Linked DNA regions of Homo sapiens: region 2 is linked to region 1. Evidence: promoter capture Hi-C in 16 types of primary human blood cells and fetal thymus (Javierre and others, 2016). All regions are on one chromosome and are shown on one strand. The core of a region is centred on a gene start or on the middle of the fragment in contact, and the rest is flanking DNA. Distances in the headings are between cores, read along the strand shown.

Region 1 (6,226 bases), core at 2,568-5,067:
AATCTGGTAACCGTGTTTTAGTACTTGTTTTTTGTTTTTGTTTTTGTTTTTTTTGAGAGGGAGTCTCCCTGTGTCTCCCAGGCTGGAGTGCAGTGGCGCGATCTCGGCTCACTGCAAGCTCCGCCTCCCGGGTTCACGCCATTCTCCTGCCTCAGCCTCCTGAGTAGCTGGGACTATAGGCGCCTGCCACCATGCCCAGCTAATTTTTTGTATTTTTAGTAGAGGTGGGGTTTCACTGTGTTAGCCAGGATGGTCTCAATCTCCTGACTTCGTGATCCACCCGCCTCAGCCTCCCAGAGTGCTGGGATTACAGGCGTGAGCCACCGCACCCCGCCAGTACCTGTTAGTTTTTAAGGAAACTGGAAGCCTTCAAACAGTGGAAGTGACCTGGGACTCACAATCTCTGCGAGGCTTGCTGGAGAGCTGACTCCCCCTCCTGGTTGAGGATAGTGAAGTGAGGCATCATCGCTGGGTTTTAGGCAGCAGCAACTGACTGGGCTCAGGGCAGGGGTTGGGGGGAATCCTCGTATCTGGCAGGTGGAGCTACCCAGGCCAGGGTGGTTCCCAGCTATGGATTGCTGGAGCTCACAGCCGCACAGAGGGTCCCAAGCCCAAGAGGAGACGGGCTGAACAGCTCCTCATCTCTGCAGTGCCCCCTCACCTCTCCCCATATTTTGTAGGAGCCAGGGTGCCCCGTGGAAGACATGTTCCATTTCTCTGATGGAAGCTGCCAGGAGTCTGCTGAGTAGGTCCCACCTGTCTTTCCAGGGTGTTTCCTGCAAGTGCAGACTCACTGAGCAGGTGGCTGGCTAAAGGACAAGCCTGTTTTTGTCTGGAGCCCTGTTCTTCGGGGCTGAACATTTCCTCCACCTGCCAACCACCTGCTTTGAGCACCCAGGAGAGGTGAAGGATGGGAAATAGGTACTTTGATGCTGCCTCTCATTCTCCTCAAACCATAGGCTAAGGGGTGCTGGCGGGCTGTTGCCTAGCAGCCCCAGGCAGCCAGACTGCTTCCAGATGCCAGTGGTCACAAGTAAGGTGCCTCCAGCCCAGCTCACCTCTATTCTCCAGACAATGATCCCAGGGTCGTTGTCCACAGCCCTGAAGGCACTGGTCAGAGGCATGATGCTTGTCTTTCCAGGACTGAAACATCACAGAACAAGAGGGGAGATGATATCTCTTGCCATAGTGGGCATCAATCCAGTTTTTCTGCCGAGCTGCTTCCCAGTCTGTTGTCAGCCATCCTGCCACACCCTCATGGTGCATCCCTGCACCATTTCACAATGATGGGGGCAAGGACTTGTCCAAGTGCACATGGTGAGCCTGGCTGGCCTGGGGATTACCACCCATGAGTTCTGCTTCCCACCTGCCATTGCCCTTAAGAGCTCTGGTAATCGTCATGGTTATTTACCAAAGGGGTGATAAATATGTTAAGCCCTGTATTGATTCACTTTGCATATGTTATCTCTAATTTTCAGAAGGTGAGTTTCTTCATCTTACATTGTGTGAATCTGAGGTTTGCAAAGGCTGAATAACTTGTACAAGATCACACTCTAGAATGAAATCCTTATCTGATCCCCAAACCTGTGCTTCTAGCCACTTTGATGTACTACAACCCTTCCTAAACCAATCTAAGTTCAGTGGCATTTGGAAAGAAAAGCTAGTCAGAAAAAATATTTCCAAACTCAGTTGCCTTCTCTCACTCTCATTCCAATTCTTCCCAAGTTCCCTGCTTGCAAGGCCTTCTCCACAGTCAACTTTGACCTTCTCTTTGGCTTTTGTCCTTTTTTTTTTTTTTTTTTTTTTTTTAGAGTAAACTATTCTTAAACTCAAACAACCCTTCCTTCTTTTGTCACTACTATATTCCCTGTGCTTTCCAGATGCAAGGAAAGTAAAATGGCAGGGCTGGGCCTGGGACAAAGGGTTCTGGGTGCTAGCAGGGTGTGGCCTGGTCTGGCCTGCGGACAGATGGCTTCCTTTTTCCCTCCCACACAGACCCAAGCTTCTGTGTGGAAGCGTGAACCTCAGACACTTAGACGTCTCCAGTTCCTTCAGGATTGAGCAAGTCAGGGTGGGGAGAGGGGGGAAGTGGTAAAGATCTAAGTCTGTGTAGGTCGTGTACCATCTGTATTCAAGGAGCATCTTGGGTAATTAAGCACCTACCCATGTCCAAGGCCACGTAGAGGCTTTATAGAATTAAAATACCTGCTCTCAAGGAGCTTGAAATCTGATAACATGCATAATTAATGTAAAGCTAGATTAATTTCTCCCAAGAGGCAAAGGAAAAAGGATGGGGTTGATGGATTTATGTAAGATTTAAAAATTCACCCAGAAAGGACTGTATGCATTTTTGCTGTTTGGGGACATACTGTTTGTTAAGAGGAACATGTCTGACCATTGTTTTCTTGAACCTTGATGGACAAAGCCAAGTTTGGAGAGCATGCGCCATCTAGTATGGACTTTGGCAAAAAACCATAAAGCTCAAAGCAGACTCGCTTTGTCTACTGCTGTAGCAGGACTAAAGCAAGGCAATGGTGCGGAGCAGCCAGTGTTTGAGAATTTAATTTGATAACTTGTGCTGCCCCACCCTGTGCTGCTCAGAATTGCCAGGAAATATGGTGTTTGGGTTTTCTTCAGACCCTACGTAGCAGTCATTAAAGGCAAAAGCCATGAGCCAACTAGGGGAAGGGGACAAGGGCCACTGAATTCATTCCTTGGAGACAGAGAACTGTCACCCTGGTAAAAGCCAAACCAGCCGGCAGCAATTAGGACTGTGAGCCTCAGAGGCTGAAACCTGTCCCGTTTCCCAGCAGGAATTTAGGAATCAAGGAGCTCCCTGGGCCAGGCACCCCGAATGCGAGAGGATAAGCTCCAGGAAGGGACTTCCTGTCACACTGGAACACACAGAAAACACAGTTCTGACATCAAATCTCCCAAAGCTGGGTCTCTCCTTCTCCCTAAATCCTAATTCAGTATCCTTTGAGAGGACTGCAGAAACCCCTTGGGTGTGGGGCACAGTTTTGAAATGTCAGGTTAAAAGCCAGTGGCCTGTAATTCTCAGAGATGCCCTTTTGGACGGACCCTGAGCAGAGGAAGCTGTTTTTTGTTGTTGTTGTTTTTGAGACAGGGTCTTGCTCTGTCACCCAGGCTGGAGTGCAGTGGTACAATCACGGCTCACTGCAACCGCCACCTCCTGGGCTCAAGTGATCCTTCTGCCTCAGCCTCCTGAGAAGCTGAGACCACAGGTGTGCACCACCATGCTTGGCTTTTTTTTTTTTTTTTTTTTTTTTTTTTTTTGTAGAGACAGGGTCTCACTATGTTGCCCAGGATGGTCACAAGTTACAAACTCCTGGGCTCAAACAATCCTCATGCCCTGGCTTCCCAAAGTGTTGGGATTACAGGTGTAAGCCACCTCTCTGGGCCAGGAAGCTGGTTTTAACTCCTCCTGCCTTGCTCCATACCATCTTTCTCTAGGGATAGGTGAAAGGGGTCTGTCTTTCCCAGCTTTTGAAAATGTGCCCTATATGTTCAGCTGCCTCTAAGGGGTTCTTCTGAACAAGAAGTTTGCAAAACTGGCCAGCCAGACTCCTGGTTCATTTTAAAAGCCTCATCTCAGAAGACAAAGCCAAGGGACTCTCAAGCTCCTCTTCCTTTCATTTCTTCCTCATTCAGGAGGATTAACTGGCATGCCCCCGTAAATCAGAGACCTTACCTTGCCTTCTCGCTCACCAGCCTTCCCAGTTTCCCGGCGCGTAAGCAGCAGCAGTATTGAAGAACCACTCCAAAGCAGGAGGCTCCAGGTCCTGCTGCCTTAGCTTAGTAATGGCCGCAGAGATACTGGGTTATATTTGCTTGTGTTTGCATCTTAACCGCATTTTCCTAGTCCTGGCCAATCAGAGCCAACCTAGCACTGAGCTTGGCTTATTCAAACCAGAGGGAAAGCTTTATCTGTGCCTATTCAAAACAGCAAAACAGAAGAGCAGACTTTTAAAGGCTTCTTTGAACTCCAGCTCCACGCCCTGATCTAATTGATTTTTTAAAAAGTGCACACAGCCCATCAATAATGCAGGAAAGAGGTTGGAAGGATATGAAATTTGCCATATTGTAGATATGGATGCATTATGGTGATGACAGGAGGAAGAGGCTGGAGCTGCCCCATGAGTGCCTGTGATGTCTAGGTTGGCAAGAGCCTCCCTAAGAAGCTTCTGGCATTTCTCAAAGGGAGGGGAAGTCTGGGAGAGGAGCCAGAATTTTATTAGGCCACAGTTTTGCTCGTTGGGGTCTCTACTAGTCATACAGTAAACCAATCAATATTTGAGTGCCTGCTGTTTGCCAGGAACCATGCTGGGCTCTCAGCTTCAGGGTTTCCAGTTTGGAAGAATCAGTGAGGGGCAGAGAAGAATCAAGACTCCATTCCCAGGGCTGGGTGTGGTGGTGGCTCACGCCTGTAATCCCAGCACTTTGGGAGGCTGAGGTGGGTGGATCACAATGTGAGGAGTTTGAAAACAGCCTGGCCAAGATGGTGAAACCCCATCTCTACTAAAAATACAAAAATGAGCCGGGCGTGCTGGCAGGCGCCTGTAATCCCAGCTACTCAGGAGACTGAGGCAGGAGAATCGCTTGAACCTGGGAGGTGGAGGTTGCAGTGAGCTGAGATCATGCCACTGCCTCTAGCCTGGGCAACAGAGCAAGACTCCATTTCAAAAAAAAAAAAAAAAATAATAATCCATTCCCTTAGGGCTTCTGGTTCATGCCCAGAAGTCAATAGGACATCAAGCATATACACGTGCTAAGCACCTGACTGCAATGGGGTTGATCACAGCAGAACTTGTGTAACCTTGAGCGGAAGCCCTGTGTGGCATCTGCAGCTGGCCTCCCGGTGGGTGCAACACCCCACTCAGCCCGGGGGTGCAGCTGCTTCATGATGGAAGGGGTTGCGAGAAGAAAGGCGGTGCTTGCCATGGGCCCAGTGAACACTTAAGGGCCAATGAAGGTTGGTGGCAGCTCACATTCCTGGAAAGGTTTTTTAAACCCACTTTTATTAATTAATTGTAAGTAATACAAATATTCCAAAAATATAAACAGACACTTAATGGCGTCCTGCATTTCAAGTTTTTGAATACAACAAATTTATCAAACCATGAATCTGTAAGCAAGGTAGTCAGAATCCCATAGCCCAGTCACAGTGGGAAGCAGATCCCCTACCCTCCAAATGGCATCTTGAAGGGGGAAAGCGGCACGAAATGGAACATGATAAGCAAAAAAGCTCACGAGGCCCAAAGAGGAGGGTCCGCTCCATGGGCAGGCCCTACAACGTTAAAAGAATGGGGCAGCTGGCCCGACCTCTGGCCTCCTCTTCCCTGGCTGAATGTAAATATTTACCAGCATTTAGAAAAAAGGAGAAAAAAGACAGAACTAAACCCGTTTAGGAAAAAGGGACCGAGGGACAGCAGTGGTTAAGTAATCCACTGAGGACCTGAAGGGGAAAATGGACTTACCTTTCTCATATACTTGGCCTGGCTAGGACACTGGGTGCCAGACAGCCTTCTGAGGGGATTTTCTTTCTAAATGAGGCCTCAGGAACAGGTAGGGGCAGCAGAATAGAATAGCATCCATTTCCCAGAGAAAGACTGCCTTTACATTTCCCATGCTTTTAGCACAAAGCAGCGTCTGGGCCACTGTTACCAGAGGTGAGTTTATACATTTACAAAATGCTTAAAATCTTTGGGAAGCAAGAGGAAGCTAAACAGAAGGTCCCATGTTAACTGAAGGCAAATTCACTCAACCTCTCTAGTAAGGGACCCATGGGCCTACAGAGTGTTCCCTCTACAATGTGCAGAGTGGAAACCCTTACCTGACCCTTTTCCAAACTGGTCCTGTGTCCAAAGCTCCCCCTATGAGAGGGACACGAACATCAGGCTTTTGATTTAGAAGCCCAATCAGAGAGACACACTGTGTCCCTGAAGAGGCACCTTAAAAGAACTGAACCTGGCAGGTAGGCAGATTCCTGGCATGGCTTGAATTGGTGCTGACCAGGCATGGTGGCCTATTGCCTCCCAAAGACCAGTCTCAAGTGGGAGGGGCTGATGGTGGGAAGCCCTAGAAGAGAGTCTGGGATGAAGCGGCCTCCTCCCTGTCTTGCCCTCCAAAATTGAGTCTGGCCTGATTCCTTTGAGGAGCAAATTTTACAATCATCCCTCACCCTAACACACGGTGAAACTGGAAA
Region 2 (6,627 bases), core at 83-2,582, 52 kb before region 1:
ATCCTTGTACCCTAGCCCAATTCCTCCGGTTCCCCCAGTTCCCAGGATTCGGGCCTCAAAGGATAAGGAGGTAGGCGGGGAGTGAGGTTGGGGCTCAACCTGAGTGTGGGTGAAGCAGACTGGGATGGGAACCCCAAGATGCCCAATGGTAGAGTGGGACAGCCGACCTCCCACCATGCCCCCAGATTGATAGTTTCGGGACCCGCAGCAGGAGAGGGCCGCTGCAGGGCGTCTGGGCTTCTGGGGGCAGAGAAGACTCACGCAGTGAGCAGTCCGCAAGCCCGCTGGCGGCAGCGGCGGTGCTCCGTCCAGGGCGAGAAGCTGCAGCGCTCGGGCCGGGGTCCCTCCTGTCGCAGCAGCTCCTCGACGAGTGCAGGGGCAGCCACGTACACGGTGCGCACTGTCCCAAAGCTGGCTAGCCACACCGGCCCGAAGTGCGCGGCGCCCTGCACCTGGGGGAGCGGACACAGCGGACACTTGGATACCTGGGCGGGGACTTTCAGCTTGACCTGTGCCCACGCCAAGGGCGTTGACTGGGCTTGGGAATAGGGAGCTTCTGCTCTTTCTCGGGTGCCCAACTAGTGTATGCCTTTGATACTGCAAACTCCTCCTCTCTCATTTCCCATCCCTAGAAAGTTTGAGTGTGATGGGCAAAACCGGAACTTTGTGCAAGGCAGACATTCAGGACCTCTCTGATCATCTCGGTCGAGGAGAAATCTCTAAAAGTTCCATGTCTGGACTGTCCATCTCAGGACGAGTCCTCAGTGAATGAAAAGGAACCCATGTAGCTTTAAGCCGCAAGCAGGCGGAGGGTACTGCCCACTCCGGCCTCCCCCTCCCGCGCACTTGTACTTTATCTGCAGGATCTCCACACCTCAGGACAGCGAGAAGGCGCTTTCGCAGCGCCCTCTGCTAAGAGTCGGGACGGGCTCTGCCCGAGTGTAGCCACACCGCCCCCAGCCTCAACTCGCCTTTTCCTTATTTCATGGGCATCCGTTCTCTCTGGCTGTCCCACATTTGCTCTGCACTAGTCAGTCCTTTCTGACGCTGTCAAAACCAGTTTCCCCAGCACTCTGTCTCGGGAAAGGCGTCCCTTCCTACCTGCAGCTCGTGTAGCCTCGACAGCCCCCCCTTGCAGAAAAGTTCGGCCAGAAAGCTGGGCGTAGAGGGGCCTGGGATGTCTGCCAAGCTCCGGCGTGCTGAGTGGTACTCTCGGTAGCCTAGGGAGGCGCCCAACTCGGGCGCCCAGCGGACGCGATGGAACACTCTGGAGGCGTACTTGAGGGTCTGGGTCATGGTCTGGTTCAGGGTGCTCGCGAAAGAAAGCGCTTCTCCTGAGCATCATATCTCAACCCCTATTTAACCTTTGGGTGAGGTGATGACGCCCCCTCTCCAAGCTCCTCAGCCAATCCCTCCTCCTGAGTGGTCTGTGCTGGGGATTAGCACCCAGGAACAGTAGGCGGGGCTGGGGCTGACTTCACAACTCCCTTGGGTCTCATGTTGCAATGACCCTCATGGGAGGGAGGGCCTAAGATTTTCCTCCTGGGAGAGTGCCTTTGTCTAGGAGCCTCAAAGTCTCATCCTAGGAAAGGCTATAAGGCTTTTTAGTAGGGACTAGGTGACCAAGCTACACTAGTCAGTCTCTGATATTCCCACTTCTACCAGTGAGCCCAGCCCCTTTAGGCCCATCCTCAGGAATTCCCCATCTTTCAGCTCCTCCAGGAAGGGAAGCAGGGGAGGCACAGCTGTAACTGTCCCCACATTCTTGGCTTAGTGGGTTGTATCTTCTCTGCATTATTTTCCTGCACTAGCCACACCTCCCCCTCCTCCTGTACCTAACATATACTGGGCAGATGGCAGGTGGGTTAATGGGCTAAAATGGCTCCTAGAACCTCCATCTTTCTTTCTTGAGGATAAGGGGGTCTCTTGGGTATACAAGCCCCCTCCTTCCAGACATGGGAATTTGGGGCTTGAGAAGCAGAAATGAAACTTTTTGTACATTAGTTAAGTTCAGAGATTGTCTGTGGGGTGTTAGAGGAGCTAAATGGATGTGGATGTTCTAATTCCCCAGCTGACTCGGTCTCCTCTGGGGGGCTTTCTGGTTAGCAGCTCCTTTCTACTTTTAGCCTCAGAATCCTGTGGTGGCTCATGCCTATAATCCCAGCACTTTGGGAGGCTGAGGCAGGAGGATGGCATGAGGCCAGGAGGTTGAGACAAGCTTGAGCAACATAGCAAGACTGTCTCTACAGAAGAAGTTTAAAAATTAGGCTGGGCACGGCAGCTCATGACTGTAATCCCAACACTTTGGGAGGCTAAGGTGGGCAGACTGCTTGAGCTCAGGAGTCTGAGACCAGCCTGGGCAACATAGTGGAACTGTCTCTACAAAAAATACAAAAATTAGCCAGGCATGGTGGCGTATGCCTGTAGTGCCTTGAGAGGCTGAGGTGGATTACATGAGCCCGGGAGGTCAAGGCTGCAGTGAGTTATGATTGTACCACTGCACTCCAGCCTAGGCAACAGAGAGAGGGCCTGTCTCTAAAAAAAATTAAAATAAAAGAATCTCCCACAGTTTACCTCTCTGCTCCTTACTCCCTCATTCCCCACTGCAACTCTATCAGGCTCTGTGCCAGTCAGCTAGCTCTGAAGTTCTGGAATTGAAGGTCAATGTGAAAAAGGAGAGGGTCTCCACCCCCACACCTTCCCAAGGACTCTCCAGAGACAACACTTAGGGAACACAGATTCCCCAGGTCAAGTCTTACGCAGGGAGAGGACAGGAGGATGGTAGAAGGCATATGATACATACTCCACCCTTTCCTGAGAAATGGCAGAATAGGCATGTGTACACATATACATGTTATCCCAGGATCCACAAAGCAAACAGAAGTGGTAATTGAGCCTAGCAAGCAGTTTAGATGGACTACATTCCTCATTCCAGCTGAGGAGAGATCTCACAAGGAGAAAGGAGTGCTAAGGAAGAGCAAGACCCCACAGCCTTCCAAAGATCCCCTATGGTCCAAAGTCCTTTGACCATCTCAGTCAGCTGCTTTGTTTTCTGTTGGCAGTGGAGGGACAAGGTGAGAGGAGCCAGGGGTAGTCATGAACACCAGTGGGTTCTGCCCTGGGCAGCTCCCCACCTTCTTTAAGAGAGTACTGTGTCTCAGCTCCAGCAGTCTCAACTGGGAAGACCCAGGACTCCTGCTCTTTTCTCTAATCCCTGGGAGACGAGGTCCAGCTAAGGTAGAGTAAGCAGTCAGTGACCAGGCAGGCTGGTTTGGGAGGTCACTGCCTGGAGGACGGGATCTTGTATTCTTCGGAAGATGGCTGGGAAATTCTTCCCTCCATTACGTAGAACTTTCTTCCCCTCCTCAGTTGAGGTGCCTAGATGTCCCACAACGGGGTCTTCACTCTGGGAGAAGGAAGGGTCCAATAAGTCCTTGCCCACTGTTCAGACTGCCCCTGGCCCTTAGACACCTATCCCATCCTCCTGGCACTGAGTTAAGTCCAAATACAGAACCACTCTGGAAAGGGCCTCCACCTCCTCTAGGTCCCCTACTCACCAGGTCCTCCAGAGGCACACGCTCAAACAGTGGGTGCTCTTCGAAATGAGTGCACATCCAGTCGTGTAGCTCCAGCACATCGGTTATGGTATACACCAGCCCCTGCATAGGCAAAATCACCCTAGACAGGAGGCTGCATGCAACGTCAGCAGCCAGATGAAGGAAGTGGTGGTGTGAGTCCCTAAATGCACCCCCACTGAATTCTTAGTGAAGGGCCCCTGAGTAGGCCACTCACCCCATCATCCCTCCGATCCCAACTCACCCCAACTCTTAGCACGTAGGCATATTCTGCTAGCAGGGTGGGACTGATGATTCGCCACTTGTGCTTTGTCCGCTTGAAATGTGGGTCGGGGAAGAGGAAGAACATCTTTGTCAGCTGTGAGACAGACACACACCAACAGGGTTGTGAGAGCCTGGCCTCCATGCCCCCACCTGCCTACCAGCCTAACCCACCAGGGCCCCTCCCCACCTGGCCCTTGTAGAAGAAGTTAGGAAGGTGCTTCATGGCATTGCTACGGAGACAGGCGATGTTCTGGAAGCCACCTGCAGGAGCTGCGCGTAGGGCCCGAATCCGGTCTTGTACATAGTCTGAGACCTTCACCCGGATCTCCAGACCCAGAATAAGTGTGTCTGGGAACAGCGGTGACAGTTCCACTGCACACAGAAATAGCAATGGAATCATCAACCATATACTTGTAGGAAGTGCAAAGGGGTCAACACAGGAAAGGAAGCCTCAACCTGCAACTACCAAAGTCCAGAACGGCAAGAGAGGACAGAGATACATATATGGATAGTTTTATGCTCAAGAGGCGGGGGGAGAAATGAAAATTGTCACCAGGACCAGAATGGGAGGGCTGAGGATACATGTATATTTGCCATTGCTTTAGAGTTTTCCACAGTGTTTTCACACATTGTGTTATTTCATCCTTATAACACTCTGTGGTAAATTGTGAAGATAAGGAAACTGAGGGTCAGATATGCCGAAGATCATAGAGTTAAGAAGGGGCAGAACTGGAACTTATTTATTTGAGATGGAGTCTTGCTCTGTCACCCAGGCTGGAGTGCAGTGGCACAATCTTGGCTCACTGCAATCTCTGCCTCCCAGGTTCAAGTAATTCTCCTGCCTCAGCCTCCTGAGTAGCTGGTCTTGAACTCCTGGCCTCAAGTGGTCCACCTGCCTCAGCCTCCCAAAGTGTTGGGATTACAGGTGTGAGCCACTGTGCCCAGGCAGAACTGGACCTTAAACCAAGGTTTTCTGCCTCTATGTACCATGCTCTTCTTCTCTATCAGGCTGTTATCTGTTTGGGAAGATCTAAAAATAGGGAGTGGCTTGGCATGCATGGGTGGGACAATACAGACAATACAAGAGGAACCCAAAAAACAGGAGAGTGGGGCAGAAGGAATGAGATCTGGCGAGGGAGGGGCAAAGGGGAGGGGAGATGGTAGAATCTCTGAGAAAAGACAGTTCAGGATCACTGGCCACAACGGCTAATCTCTGATGCTTGTGCTGACCAGCTCACTGACCCGGAACCTGGCAGATGAAATGGCTCATGTAGGGATTGACGCCAGAAAGGACAACCCAGGTTTTAAGAAGCATTTGAGGCAGCCCCCTCCACTCTCCAGGGCAAAGGTCACAGACCCAGAGTAGAGGGTAGGTGGAGCCTCTCCATGCTGATGTCACCAGTGTCTGGACGAAAGGGGAAAGGCCAATTATGACCCCCCACAAAAGTTGCTGAGGCAGCAGAAGCTACTAGGCCTCTTCTCACCCCAAAAAGAGGGCCTGAGTGTTACCTAACAGGCCACCATAGCCACAGCCTATGTCTGCAAACTCCACTTGGGCCTGAGCTCTCTTTTCTTTCTTATCCTTTGGGTCATCGTGGCTCTGATTTTGAGTGAGTGGAGCGAAGAACTCTGGGTATAGCTCAGACCAGTCCATCTCCTCTGGCTTCACAGGGCTATTGGAAAGAAGACATAAGAAGCATGAGAAGGTTGGTCACACCATTGCAGAAGTGGTACTGTGAGAGTGTGTGGGTGGGTGAGGGTGGGAGGTAAAAGGGAGGAGGGTTTCTCAAAAATTCTGTAACACTGGGCCCTGTGGCCTCTAAGAGGGACAATGGAAACCACCCTTAACTCCCAGTGTGAATCATAGGACCATCATGAGGCCCATAAACGCTGACCTGCCCAACTCCACTTCTGGCGGTTGATGTGACCCTGGCCGGGTAACTGCCCTTTCTGGGGCACAAGTTCCCCTTCTCCCGAGACTGGCTGCCTAATGCACTGGGATCCTACTTTGTGTTTGTGCTCTGCGGGGAGGGAAGGTAAGGTAAGGTGCGGGCAGGATTGTGTATATGTTTGCCTTTTTATTAAATCCAACAAACAAAAGCAAAAGATGGAAACGACATTCTGCCTCTATCACTTCAGTCTCAGTAACAATTTATTTCTCTTCCCAAACTTAGCACCGCTACCCAGACTTAGGCCCGAACGCCACGCCCACTCTCAACCCGCCAACTCCTCTCTCGGTCGAATCTCCCGGTCCCACCCCCAAAAACTGACGTCACCCATCTGATCCTCCCGGGTCTACCCCAAATCCTCCCAGCAGTTGCAGCACAACTGCTCTCCCGGCTGCTTTGAGAATCCCGCCCTCCTCTCTCTCCCTCTGCCCACTCCTCACTAGCGCAGCGTGTGGTCCGCCATGGGGTTGGAGTGAGCACGTTGCCGGTAGTAGCGCTTCTGGGGCGGTGGGGCCTCTGCTCCGGCCACGTTCCGAGTCTCGGCTGCCATGATCCCAGTCCGGGGTTTCTCTACCAAATCCACGTGGAGGCGCAGGCCAGAGGCGCAAGTTAATGACGCAGCCATGCGCGTTGGTGGCAGTTCCCGCCCCTTAAAGACCCAAGAGCAAATTCAGCTGGGCTGGGCTGGGCTGGGCTGGGCTAGGTGGGGAGGGCTGTAAGGAGCGAGTGCTGGAGGGAACCTCCGCACCGTTAGCCTCCAACTGGGAGGGCGAGGCCAGGCCCAGGGACCCAACGTTTTCTCTTAGCTTGCTTCTGCCTGGTCTGGGTTACCATCCTGG

Evidence for each region. The method cuts DNA at HindIII sites, captures the fragments that hold promoters and counts their contacts. A CHiCAGO score of 5 or more calls a contact.
Region 2: the fragment with the promoter of CYP27B1 here is called in contact with the fragment with the promoter of AVIL in region 1 in 5 of 17 cell types (M0 macrophages, M1 macrophages, M2 macrophages and 2 more); the score reaches 11.2 in M0 macrophages.

Annotation. Positions count from the first base shown.
Region 1 is chr12:57,814,917-57,821,142 of GRCh38, forward strand. It overlaps AVIL (advillin), which reads right to left and starts at 3,818. Exons shown (of 20, transcript NM_006576.4): 1 at 3,713-3,818; 2 at 1,059-1,143. The coding sequence starts at 1,124. It overlaps CTDSP2 (CTD small phosphatase 2), which reads right to left. Exons shown (of 8, transcript NM_005730.4): 8 at 5,011-6,226. The HindIII fragment of the contact is 1,940 bases long and covers 2,001-3,940 here.
Region 2 is chr12:57,765,746-57,772,372 of GRCh38, forward strand. CYP27B1 (cytochrome P450 family 27 subfamily B member 1) reads right to left here and starts at 1,333. Exons shown (of 9, transcript NM_000785.4): 1 at 1,102-1,333; 2 at 262-452. The coding sequence starts at 1,296. METTL1 (methyltransferase 1, tRNA methylguanosine) reads right to left here and starts at 6,360. Exons shown (of 6, transcript NM_005371.6): 1 at 6,229-6,360; 2 at 5,349-5,512; 3 at 4,027-4,211; 4 at 3,820-3,933; 5 at 3,558-3,659; 6 at 2,726-3,406. The coding sequence starts at 6,338. The coding sequence ends at 3,251. RefSeq lists enhancers at 5,219-6,418, 6,104-6,393, 6,524-6,627. The HindIII fragment of the contact is 11,205 bases long and covers 1-2,216 here.